Regions from separate parts of the Homo sapiens genome. Here regions 2, 3 and 4 are each linked to region 1. The links are contacts of gene promoters, found by promoter capture Hi-C in human tissues and cell types (Jung and others, 2019). All regions are on one chromosome and are shown on one strand. The core of a region is centred on a gene start or on the middle of the fragment in contact, and the rest is flanking DNA. Distances in the headings are between cores, read along the strand shown. Region 1 holds the start of ZDHHC14 (zDHHC palmitoyltransferase 14). Region 2 overlaps SYNJ2 (synaptojanin 2). Region 3 overlaps SNX9 (sorting nexin 9). Region 4 has its middle 24 kb from the start of SYNJ2.

The links. Contacts are between HindIII fragments. The study calls those that stand out against the background at their distance.
Region 2: a contact is called between a fragment that was not itself captured here and the fragment with the promoter of ZDHHC14 in region 1, in 2 of the 25 tissues and cell types used here (H1 embryonic stem cells and dorsolateral prefrontal cortex).
Region 3: a contact is called between a fragment that was not itself captured here and the fragment with the promoter of ZDHHC14 in region 1, in 1 of the 25 tissues and cell types used here (dorsolateral prefrontal cortex).
Region 4: a contact is called between a fragment that was not itself captured here and the fragment with the promoter of ZDHHC14 in region 1, in 2 of the 25 tissues and cell types used here (dorsolateral prefrontal cortex and hippocampus).

Annotation. Positions count from the first base shown.
Region 1 is chr6:157,379,805-157,382,832 of GRCh38, reverse strand. ZDHHC14 (zDHHC palmitoyltransferase 14) reads right to left here and starts at 1,643. Exons shown (of 9, transcript NM_024630.3): 1 at 567-1,643. The coding sequence starts at 811. LOC124901446 reads left to right here and starts at 1,742. Exons shown (of 1, transcript XM_047419644.1): 1 at 1,742-3,028. The coding sequence starts at 2,132. The coding sequence ends at 3,022. RefSeq lists enhancers at 586-725, 1,484-2,095, 2,707-3,028 and silencers at 816-865, 1,376-2,265, 2,426-2,505. The HindIII fragment of the contact is 9,861 bases long and covers 1-3,028 here.
Region 2 is chr6:158,013,820-158,016,932 of GRCh38, reverse strand. The region is part of intron 1 of SYNJ2 (synaptojanin 2); the gene reads right to left. Among named protein-coding and RNA genes, the nearest start is that of SYNJ2-IT1, 14 kb to the right of the region's middle. The HindIII fragment of the contact is 4,582 bases long and covers 1-3,113 here.
Region 3 is chr6:157,909,218-157,912,239 of GRCh38, reverse strand. It overlaps SNX9 (sorting nexin 9), which reads right to left. Exons shown (of 18, transcript NM_016224.5): 8 at 2,450-2,575; 9 at 2,215-2,332. Among named protein-coding and RNA genes, the nearest start is that of SNX9-AS1, 18 kb to the right of the region's middle. The HindIII fragment of the contact is 3,504 bases long and covers 1-3,022 here.
Region 4 is chr6:157,955,798-157,959,131 of GRCh38, reverse strand. No RefSeq gene overlaps it. Among named protein-coding and RNA genes, the nearest start is that of SYNJ2, 24 kb to the left of the region's middle. The HindIII fragment of the contact is 3,731 bases long and covers 1-3,334 here.

The sequences.
Region 1 (3,028 bases), core at 394-2,893:
AGAATGCAATGATCTATCCAGGGCACACTAGGCAGCCGACACTTTGAAACCTGAAATAGCCAAGATTCCTCAATTATTCGTCGAAGTTACATGGGAGATTCAGTCAACTGAGCTTAAGAAGATGCCCTATATGTTGTCAGCAAGGGGGAAAAAGTCAGTTCCATGTATCCCTGACTTAGGAATCTATCGCACCCCACCTTCCCACGGCAGGCTACATCTGGGCTGATTTGCTGGGTCCCCAAACTCGGTAGAGAGCGCCCCAAGGATCAGGGACCGGCGGCCCCACCTGCTGGGTCCCATCCGCCACCTGGATTGGCAAGGCCTGGCCCCCCTTGCAAGTGGACCCCTTCCCTCCCTGCTCCCAGAAGCCCAGCCCAGAACGGCGTTCTTTCCGGGGGCCCAAAAGCAATCAGACCTTTAAAAGAAAAAAGAGGGAGCGCAGACTGGCATTATATAACAATTTACAGTAGATAAGACTTCTAGAAAACGAAAGCAGCCCGAGGAGGGGCGGGGGACAGGGGAGACCAGGGGAGTGCGGCGTCGGGGGAGCGGTCGCCACCACTTACTCGAAGGCGAAGAAGAGTCCGCTAGTGACCAGGATGAGGACGAGCGTCAGGTAGAAGACGCCCGTCTGCCGGGCCATCATGATCCTCCCGTTACAGAAGAACTTGTTTCTTCCCGGGAACACCTCCCATTTCCTCCGGGCCGCGATTTTCTTCTTCTTGTGGGGCGACTCCATGGGGGAGGAGCTGTGGGTGCTGATCTGGCTGTACTCGCAGTCTTTCATGGGCCCGCCGCCGCCGGGAGGCATCCACGAGGGCAGCCGGCTGGGGGCGCACACCCCCAGGAGCCCCCCGGCCGCGCGGGCCCCGCCGAGCCACGACCGCCGCCGGCCGCCCGGCCGCCCCCCGAGCCGCGGCGCCGCGGCCCCTACACGGGCTCCCGGCTCGGCGACAACTTTGCCGAGGACACCCAGGTTAACCCTCCGGGGAGCCCAACTGTCATAGCAGAATCCCCGCTCCGTGAGGGGACGGCGCTGGTCCGCAGCCCGCGGCAGCACTCCTCCGTCGCTTCCAGCCCGCGTCCCGGGGCGCGGGGCTCAGCCCGGCCGGCCCCCGGGTCGCCGAGCGCCCGCCCCCTCGCGCGGCTGCCCGCTCGGCCCCGCAGCCCCCGGCTCCCCGGCCGCGCCTCGGCTCTGGCCCGCCGACCCCCGAGCACTGCGCCCCGAGGGGACACGAGGCGGCGGCCCCGGCGCCGGCTTCCTCGGGAGCCACTTCTGCGGCGCGGCCAGGTTGGGTCCACTCCTTCCTCCGGCAGCGGATCCTCCCAGGAGAGAGCGCTGGCGACTGGGCGGCCGCGCGCGGCACCGGCAACCCCTCCCAGGGGTGGGGACAACCACGCACGTTTTTCTGTCAGGAGCCTCTCGGCGAGAGCCGGGGCGCCGCTCGCACCGCGACCCGGTGTCGCTGCGCCTGGCAGCCTAGTCGAATCCGCGGCCCCCGCGCGGGGATGCGCGGGCCGAGGGCGGCGGCGGCTCGCGGGCCGCGCGGCGAGGGCTCCCTTGCTCCCTCCTACCCGGAGGAAGCGGCCCCGGCGCGAGGAGGGCCGCGGGGACACAGCACAGACACTTGTTTGCAAGGCTCAGCCCGGCGCGCGCGCGGCGCTCCGAGTGGGTCCGCCTCCTCCGGGCCGGGTGGGCGGTGGCCTCGCGCCTCACCCGCGGCTCCTCCTCCTGCTCCTCCTCCTCCTCGCCCGCGAAGCCAGGGCACCGGCGCAGCGAGATTCCAGCCCCAGCCCCCTCGGGCGGGCGCCCTGGGGTGTGGAAGGCGCGGGGCTCCCTGTGGCATCGCCCAAGTAGGGATGGGGTCGGGCGCCCGCGGCCCCGCCGCGCAGTGCGCTCCTGGCCGACTTCAGTCCGTCTCGCGGCTTCTTCCGGGTTTATCCCGCGCAGCAGCTGCCGCCTCGGGACACGCTCATTCCCACGGCCACCGGCAAGCCACTCCTGGCGACTCCCCGGGACCTGAGGAGCCGCGGCGCGGAGGTGACCCTCCCCGGCCTGCGCCTCCCTTCTTCCTCCTCCCCAGCTGGGCGCGTGGTCGCGTCGCCCGGGGACTCTGGTGATGCCCGAGAAATGGGCTGGGGGTGCCGGGTGCCAGGATGGGGTGGGGCGGCCCTAGGCCGGCCTGACTTCGGGACCGGGCTGCGGGCGAGGGTCTCGGGGCCCGGCTCGGCCGGCTTCCGGGCCGAGAAAGAAGGGCAGAGGAAGCGGTCAGGGTCCCCTCCGGCCCCGGCCTCCCTCCCGGAGTATAAGCCCTTGGAGGCCAGGTTTTGGGTTGCTGCCGCCCAGCTCTTTCGGTCTCCACTTCTCCCCACGGACGTTTACAGCTGCTCGCTTTATTTCTCCCTCCATTCCCCCGTGGAGCCCCCTCGGCAGCGGAGGGGTCGCGTGCTTCTCCTCTCCCGCCTGCGCCTCCCCCCTTCCCACCCGACAGCCCAGGAGGAGCTGCGGGCGCGGCCCTGGGACGGCCGGAGCCTGGGGCTTCTGCTCGCTCGCGCCCTCCCAGGCGTTGCCGCGGGTCCGAGCCCCCGCAGAGGTGGGCATAGCCCCGGGGCCGCAGAAAACGAAGGCAGCTGGGCAGGGATGCTCAATTTCCCGAGCCCCACTTTCCTTTCACAGCCCACTGGGATGTGTAGTTCTTCCGCCCGCAGGCCTGCGCCGAGGAGAAGCACGACTCGGGGCCTTAGAAACTACAAGTCCCTGCATCCCCCGCGACAAGGGCAGGAGAGGCGTGGTGCTGGGCGTTCTGGGGCTAGGTGGTGGGAGATGGGAACCAACAAAGGGGGTTGTGGGGAACGGTGCCTTCTCTGTACTGGGCAGTTTGCACGTTACACATGTTCTTTGTCTAATCTTCGCCGGAACCCGGTGAGGCATTATTGTATCCAGCTTAGAGAAAGCTTAACTACTGGCCAAACATCACAAAGCTCCCAAGTAGTAGAGATGGCATCGAACCCAGAGCCCTAAGTATGT
Region 2 (3,113 bases), core at 584-3,083, 630 kb before region 1:
CCAGCTGGGGGCAGGCACCTGGGGCCTGGCCCTATTACTCTACCTTGCTGTCCCTGTCCACGGGTATCATCCACTAGAGGCTACATCCTGGAGATGCCCACTCACTCCAAGGCACCTGTGGAGGTGGTAACTTGGGGAGACTGGGCAGAGGTGCCTGAGTACCTCTGAGTGCCCAGGGCCTGGGTCCAACCCATCCCAAGGAAAGCTGCGTGCCTTGCCTGCCGGGTCTTTGGCAGTGATTGTCCATGCTCAAGCCAAGGCATGTACTAGTTTTAATGCAAAACTGACAGAGGGAAGAACCATTAGGCGCAGGGAGCCCTAATGGTTAGGGAGAGCCCTAACCTCTCCAATGATGCCACAGGCCCTTCTGGTGACGACGGGGCAGGCCTTTAGACCCCTTCTCAGAATAATGTTTTAAGTGCACAGAACAAAATACAAAGATAGATGAACCTTGAAAACATTATGCTACATGAAAAAAGCCAGTCACAAAAGACCTCAGAAAGATTCCATTTTGGCCGGGCACAGTGGCTTACTTTGTAACCTGTAACCCCAGCACTTTGGGAGGCGAAGGCAGGCGGATCACCTGAGGTCAGAAGTTCGAGACCAGCCTGGGCAACGTGGCGGAACCCTATCTCTACTAAAAATACAAAAATTAGCTGGGCGTGGTGGCACACGCCTGTAATCCCAGCTACTCGGGAGGCTGAGGCAGGGGGATGGCTTGAACCCAGGAGGTGGAGGTTGCAGTGAGCCGAAATTACGCCACTGCACTCCAGCCTGGGTGACAGAGTGAGACTCTGTCTCAAAAACAAGATTCCATTTCTATGAAACGTCCAGAACAGGCACATTTCTAGAGACAGAAAGTAGATGTTGTGGTTGCCAGGGGCTGAGAGTGGGGAAAGGGGGAATGTAGATAATTGCTAATGAGTACGAAGCTTCTTTTAAGGGGGACAAAAATATTCTAAAATTAGATTATGGTGATGGTGGTGGTGATGGTTGTACAATCCTGAAAATATATTTTAGAAACATGGAGTTGTACACTTTAATGAGTTGTATGGTACAGAAATTATATCTCAATAAAGCTGTTATAAAAATCAAGAAAATAAATATGATCACAAATACCAATCTTATTGAAATCTAGTTATCAAAATTTTTAAAAAATGTTATAGTATAGCAATATATGTGCCTTATCAGCATATTAAATCGCAAAATCCAGTGGGGTCTATTAACCACCTTAATTTAAAACTAGTAATGGGAACAAATGCTACTTCAAGATATCTGAAACAACACTAATGTGATGTGGAGACATCTGTAATTGCAATTGGTGACAGGGTCAGAGATACGGCTAACCCACATTGGTGACAGAGTCACAGACATAGCTAACATACTGGTTTTGTTGCCTGCCTTCCTAATTAGAGGAAATGCTGCATTTCAGGTAGGATTTATACAAATAAAGATGGACTTTTCTCCCCACCCAAGAAAACTAATCCTCAAATCCTATGCACAGAGCCCTTAAGGAGCTTTGGGCCCCAGAAGAACCCTTGGGCTGGATGGAACCATTTCTACATCATCATGGAGGTAAGAAAAGGGGCAGCTGGTTCCCTCTCTACCTCATTGTCTTAAGCAGCCGAAAAGGATTCTTAGGCTGCCTCGACTCCCACAGTTAAGGAATTTCAACCAGGAACTAAGATCCCAAAGTGAAATGTTAGAAAGGAGAAAATGACAGAAAACATCAGCCCCTCATACCAAGCCCTCAGAGCAGATGGACTGTGAACTGACTTTCATCACTTCCTGCTGTCTCTAAAGATGTTGACTCAGAGAGGCAAGTGTAGAAAGCTTGGATGAACATTTGAAGCAGGTGAACCTTGTTTTAGCTGACACACATCCCAACACCCCAACTCAAAAGATCCACCATGCCATGTTTTCCAGGACACATTTGATTTCCTGGTTCCTCTCAACCATCCCCATCCCCCTCAAAGGCACTTGTCCTCATCAGACCACAAGTCCCAACTGGGATTGGAAATATAGTCAGACAGTCCCATCCTCCCCTCTGAAGCTCTTCCTACCCTCAGCCCCCCAGGAGTGGGTGCTGGCAGCCCTAGAGCTGCCTCGCTCAGGAACCAGCATGGACTGGCTGCTCCTGCCTCATGCTCCTCTAGCGAGCACAGGAGGACAGAAGGCAGGCACCAGGGCCTCACAACATGACCTGCTACCACCCACCAATCAGATGGCTCTGTCCAGGCTGGTTCTCGGGACATAGCTGGTGGGGCAGAGAGTCGGGACAGACCGTAAGACCAGAGACCTCCCTTCCTCCATTTCTCTAGGCAGGACTGATGGTAAGATGTGATTTAAAGAGCAGGACTGATTACCAGCGTAGCTGGAGAGGCCAACAACTTGAAAATACACCCAATTCCCATTATTCACAGTAGCTATGTTCCATAGAGTTACCAGCAGATACTGAAGCAAGCAGCACTCCTAAAGGAAATGCAGAGTTAGGTTCCTGAAAGCCTCAGGTTGCAACATTTTTGTCAATCAATCAATACTAACCTTGTTTTATGTGTTTTTCTATTTAAAAGACACCTTACTGAATAAACAGATGGTCCTCAACTTACAATGGGGTCATGTCCTGATAAACCCAGGATAGGTTGAAAATATCCTAAGTTGACAATGCATTCAATACACCTAACCTACCAAACACCATAGAGGTATGTCTCAGCTTGCCTTCCACCTATCCAGAACACATGTTAGCCTACAGCTGGGCGAAATCATGAAATACAAAGCCTACTTTCTGAAAGAGTGTTGAATATCTTATGAAATGTATAGACTATTGAACAGAAAGTGAAAAACAGAATGGTCCCATGGGTATTTGAAAGATGGTTTCTACTGAATGCATATCACTTTCACACCGTTGTTAAGTTGAAAAATCATACTGGAAGGAACCATCGTAAGTCAGGAATCATCTGTACAGTGTTGATTCGTTAACACTCAACCAGTGGCACTAGAACACAAACCTGAATACAGTTTATCAAACACACATATTTTCCCCATAAGGCACATCACTGCCTTCTTGCACTTGGAAACACTAGACAGCACTTTCAAACAGTGAAACCACGAAG
Region 3 (3,022 bases), core at 79-2,578, 530 kb before region 1:
GTTGATAAAGGAGAGCACAAAATTCAAGGAAATAGACTATAATTTTATATGGCAGAACTGAAGTTTTCATGGAAAGAAATCTGTATTTTTTAAGAGAAAACTGTGATTGAAAGCAATAAGGATGACAAAAAGGAGGTACAGGGAGTGTCTGAACCGGGTTGAGGTACAGGGAGTGTCTGAACTGGGTTAGAAGCAGGGGTTCGGTCAGTGCCTCTGGGCAGAAGGCAGCAGCAGCCCACGGCCATCTGGCTGTCACTCCACCGCCCCAGCACCACGAGGGACCACTCAAGTGTCACCCAGGGGACTGGGGAGATGTGTTTATCTACCCAGTAGTGCAGCCCCATTTTCAATTTTGCTATGACAATTTGAAATTTTTGAAATGTGTTCCAAAAAAATCAAAATCAAAACTTCTTTTAAAACAAAAGTTTCCATCTCCACAAAACACTTCAGGGAAAAATAAACATAAAACAAAGTAAAATATAAAGTAATGTTTTAAGGAGAATAATTTACTCATTGTATGAATACTAATTCTAGGGAAAGATTAGTCAGTCCACATCTTAACAGAAACAGAGTAAGCTATGGGATCAGATTCGAATTCCTTTTTCAGCAATAGAGAGGGGAACCTGTTTAATGTCTGTGGATTTCCGTTTCCTCATCTATAAAGTGAAGATGAAAATGCCTATCTGTGAGGACAGATGAGAGGCACTCGGGAAGTGTCCAGGAACACGTGGGACAAACTCCACGGCAGTGCTGACATGTTTCCATCTGGCACTGCCACCTGGCTGTGAAGGGTCGCAGGCCCTCCCTGAACTGTTTCTCTCGACTCTTGCGAGTGCAGTGAGAATTCCACCGCCTCTTGTCTTCCCTGACCTTTGGGGAAAGAACCCTTCCTTCAGCCCTCCATGTTTCTTCTCCCTAGGTTCAGGTGAGCATCTCAGTGTCTCTTTTACATCTCTTACAGGCCTCTCTGGCTCTGACCTTTGAAGACCTCCTCTCACAATCCACTCCTTTCTATTTTCACTAGTTCATGTATGTGAACATTTTCTAGCAATATACTAAAACTCTGTCTAACCTTTAAGTCTGTTTCTTCACAACATTTATTTATTTATTTATTTATTTATTTATTTGAGACAGAGTCTCGCTCTGTCGCCTGGGCTGGAGTGCGGTGGCGCAATCTCGGCTCACCGCAACCTCTGCCTCCCGGGTTCATGCCATTCTCCTGCCTCAGCCTCCCTAGGAGCTGAGACTACAGGTGCACACCACCACACCGGGCTAATTTTTTAGTAGAGACAGGGTTACACCGTGTTAGCCTGGATGGTCTCGATCTCCTGACCTCGTGATCCGCCCGCCTCGGCCTCCCAAAGTGCTGGGATGCCACTGCACCTGGCACACAACCTTTATTTTAACACACACATGCTGAGTCCCTCAGTGACTACATAGAGTAGCAGAGTCTACCCTAGGCTGGAGATTAAAAACAAAAACAATTCCCTGACACAAAAACAAACCCTTTCTACCTGCATACTTACAAGGTGCCCTGCATACTTACAAGGTGCTCTAGTAACACTATGGGTTACTTACCAAAAGATTCTTGGGGCTGGGGGAGGGGAGGGAATGTGGCACTTAAAAAACAAGAGAAGGGAGAGGGTAATAATCAAAATAAATAGAAAATGGCACTTTTAAAAAACAAGAAAAGGGAGAGGGTAATAATCAAAATAAGTAGAAAACCTGGCAGCTTCTTCCTTCATTAACACTTAGTAGTTCTGTGGCTTCTCTGTCCAGTGCTCACTCATCTAATGAAATAATGCAGCTCATCTGCATAACCTGTTTGCATCATGTGGGTCATACATTTTTATTTCCATTTTAGGCTATTTGAATTATTTCTATTTTTTCAGGTGTCATTTTTCACATATTTTAAATGTACACATTTCTTTTGTAGAAAAGGTACAGCAATGAAGACAATGACTGCTGGAATTCCAGACACATACCAAAACCTGTGATTTGCACATTAAACGTTCTTGTGAGACGTTTAGGCAACTTCCAGATAGATGTACAACATGCAATGGTTCTCTCTTCATAGCTGTATTTAATTACTGTTTCCAACTCCTGCATCCTGCTGCTCTACAGGATGGAAAATGCCATCACTGACTTACAGGAAGATAATCTGACTGGAGTCTTTCTATTTGTCATCCTGGGTTTAGCATTACACACACTCACCTGTGACTTGTTTGTCTGGAAGAGAAGGGATTGGAATGGCTGACCCAAACTTAACCAGGAGACGCTCATATAACCAGTCAAAGTGCTTATACCTGTGGTTTACAGATCGATTAGTGTTCTACAAAATAAGGGAAAGAGAAAAGGTTACCAATGCCAACTCTAGAAAATGAAGAAAAAAGCAAGCTGCAATCAGTGATCCAAACATGATTCTGCTTTTGATAACGTGGATACTTACAGTAGGTGTTAGCTGATATTCGATGTAGCTCTTTAGACCATACATTTTGGAGCCTTTCCTGGGATCTGCTACCACACAGTCAAAAGTAGAGGTAGGATAAACCCACATTGGGCCATAATCTCCAACCTATGCCAATGTTCCAGAAAGAAGTAATTTTGTTACATGGAAAAATAATAAATACAATTGATGTGAATCAGCAAGTAATTCTTTTCAGAATGAGAAGTCCTTTGGAGGGTCATTCTTGTTCCTCTTTGAAAGGTACATAAATGGTTCAATGGTTTCTGTTCCTGTTAGATATTATGTTTAAAGAACACACCTGTGGGAAACCCTTCTGCTCCCACGTGAGTAGCTCAGCCCATGGAGAGGAGACACCAGCTTCCCTCTCCCAAGGACAGTGCTGGTTACAAGACAATGTTTCTTTCTAGTCTAGCTGTCTCAAGCTACACGTGATGAAGGACTAGTTTTTAAAAATTTCGAATCTATCACAGACTAATAGTTTGGTGAAATATAACATTACACATTTTGATTTTTCAACAATACCAAATTGTCCTCAAGTTTTCAAAATATTCTCAT
Region 4 (3,334 bases), core at 411-2,910, 580 kb before region 1:
CAATTATTACAAATATATTCCATATATTCATGAAGGTAGGGAAAAATAGAAACATAAATGAGGAGAGAAATTAATAATATAAGAAAGATCCAAATGGAATTTACTAGAGATAAAAATATAATATCTGGAATAAAAAATACATGACATGGGATTAACAGCAGAGAGATGCTGCAGAAGAAGACATCAGTGAGCTTGAAGACATAGCAATAGCAACTGTCCAAAAATGAAGCCCATTGAGAAAACAAATTAACAGAGAATCCAGTGATCTGTGGACAAGATCAAGTGGTTTAACATGTATATCTCTGCAGTTTCAGAAATAAAGGAGGGAGAAAGGAAGAATATTTGAAGAAATAGGGCCAACATTTTTTCACATTTAATGAAAACTTTATAGCCATAGATCCAAGAACCTTAACCAAACCAAAGCAGAAGGTGCATGGAGAAAACTATATTAAGGCACATGATAATCAAATTGCCGGAAACTAGTGACAAAGAGAAAATCTTTAAAGCAGGTCAGGGAAGGCCAGGCACAGTGGCTCACGCCTGTAATCCCAGCACTTTGGGAGGCCAAAGTGGGCGTATCATGAGGTCTGGAGATTGAGACCATCTTGGCTAACGTGGTGAAACCCTGTCTCTACTGAAAATACAAAAAATTAGCCGGGTGTGGTGGTGGGCACCTGTAATCCCAGCTACTTGGGAGGCTGAGGCAGGAGAATGGCGTGAACCCAGGAGGCAGAGCTTGCAGTGAGTGGAGATTGCACTGCTGCACTCCAGCCTGGGTGACAGAGCGAGACTCCGTCTCAAAAAAAAAAAAAAAAAGCAGGTCAGGGAAAAAAAAACCCATTGCTTACAAACGAGCAAGGTAAGAGTGATGGCAGATTTGTCATCAGAAACTATGCAAGCCAGGAGACAATAGAGTGACATCCTTAAAGTACTGAAAGGAGGCCAGGTGTGGAGGCTCACGCCTGTAATCCCAGCAATTTGGGAGGCCGAGACGGGAGGATCAGGAGTTTGAGACCAGCCTGGGCAACATAGCAAGACCTCTTGTCTGCTAAAAATAATTTTAAAAAAGATTAGCCAGGTGTGGTGGCATGGGCCTGTGGTCCTAGCTACTTGGGAGGCTGAGGTGAGAGAATTACTTGAGCCCGGGAGCTTGAGGCTGCAGTGAGCCATGATCACACCACTGCACTGCAGCTTGGGTGCCAGAGCCAGACCCTGTCTCAAAAAAAGTACTGAAAAGAAAAAGAAAGCAATCAATCCAGAATTCTATCCTGCATAAAATTTCTTTCAAAATCAGCTTTTCAGACAAACAGAAACTGAGAGAATTAATTAACTAGGGAACCTACATTCCAAGAAATGTTACAGGACACTCCTCAGGTAGAAGGAAAATGGCACTAGAGGGAAATTTGGATGTACACAAGGATTCGAAATGATAAACACATCAGTAAATGTAAAAGACTTTTTTATAATTGAAAATACTCTTTAAAAGATAATTAACTGTGGCCAGGCGCAGTGGCTCATACCTGTAATCCCAGCACTTTGGGAGGCCGAGGCGGGCGGATCACAAGGTCAGGAGATGGAGACAAGATGGAGACCATCCTGGCTAACACGGTGAAACCCCGTCTCTAATAAAAAATACAAAACATTAGCCAGGTGTAGTGGCGAGCACCTGTAGTCCCAGCTACTCGGGAGGCTGAGGCAGGAGAATGGCATGAACCCGGGAGGTGGAGCTTGCAGTGAGCCGAGATTGCGCCACTGCACTCCAGCCTGGGCAACAAAGCAAGACTCCATCTCAAAAAAAAAAAAAAATTAACTGTTTAAAGCAAAAATATTAACAGTGTATTTTTGAGTTTATAGTATATGTAGAATAAAATATATGACAACAATAAGGTACAAGAGGGGAAAATGGAAGTAACATATTGTAAGGTTCATAAGCTGTGTATGAGGTGGCACTATTATTTAAAAATAGACGATGATAAGTTAAATACATATAGCAAAGAGGGAAAAGGGAGGTTTTATTGGAGGTAAAATAAAATCATAAAAAGTACTCAATTCAAAAGAGGGAAAAAAAGGAATGAAGAACAGATTGAACAAATAAGAGACCAATGGCAAGATAATGGATTTAAACCCAGCCATGTTGATAATCACATTAAATATAAACCGTCTAACAATAATTGGGTGCTTTACGACTCCAGTTCAGGAACAAACAAATATAAATAAATTGTATGTAGGAAGGAAACAGTGAAGACTTTACCCTCTATAATGGAAATGACTATAACAGTGAAATGCTTCCACCCAGAGGCACAAGAGCCCCTCAAAGCTTTAAGCCCTGGCTGCTGCTTGGTCTCTTCAGCTCTTTTTTATTAATTTTTTTTATTTTTTAGAGACAGGGTCTCACTCTGCTACCCAGCCTGGAGTGCAGTGGTGTAATCATAGCTCACTGCAGCCTTGAACCCCTAAGCTTGAGCCATTCCCCCTGCCTCAGCCTCCCAAGTAGCTGGGACTACAGGCATGCGCCACCATGCCTGGCGAAGTTTTAAATGTTTTCGTAGAGTCAGAATCTTGCTATGTTGCCCAGGCTGGTTTCAAGCTCCTGGCCTCAAGTGATCCTCCTGCTTCGGCTTCCCAAAGCACTGGGATTACAGGCATCAGCCACCTTGCTTGGCCTCTTCAGGCCCTTGATTCAAGAAAGCAGAAGGCAAGGAGGGGAGTCACCATCCTGTTGGAAAACTGACCAGTTGTCAGGAGGCTGTCATTCGTAGGGCTGCTTTTCCAAGACAGGGGCAGGGAAGAATACGCTTGGCACCAGGTAATCTATCGAGGGTCCCTGGGTGCTCACGTACTCCATTTGCATGGCACATAGATAAGTGCACGCATGTTTCAGAGGGGGCACGAGGAGGCACCCGTGTCAGGAGGTTCAGTTGAATCACTAAATTAGAGTGGTACAGGCCGGGTGTGGTGGCTCATGCCTGTAGTCTTAGCACTTTGGGAGGCCAAGGTGAGCAGATCACCTGAGGTCAGAAGTTTGAGACCAGCCTGGCCAACATGATGACACCCTGTCTCTACTAAGAACACAAAAATTAGCCAGGCATGGTGGCGGGCCCCTGTAATCCTAGCTGCTTGGGAGGCTGAGGCAGGAGAATTGCTTGAACCCGGGAGGCGGAGGTTGCAGTGAGTCAAGATCACACCATTACGTTCCAGCCTGGATGACAGAGGGAGACTCAGCCTCAGAAAAAAAAAAAAAATTAGAGCAGTACAAAGGCACTGTTGTACAACTGCACTACTATCCTCCACATGCATGTGTGGCAGGGCAGGAACTCTGCAATGTAAAAGTACA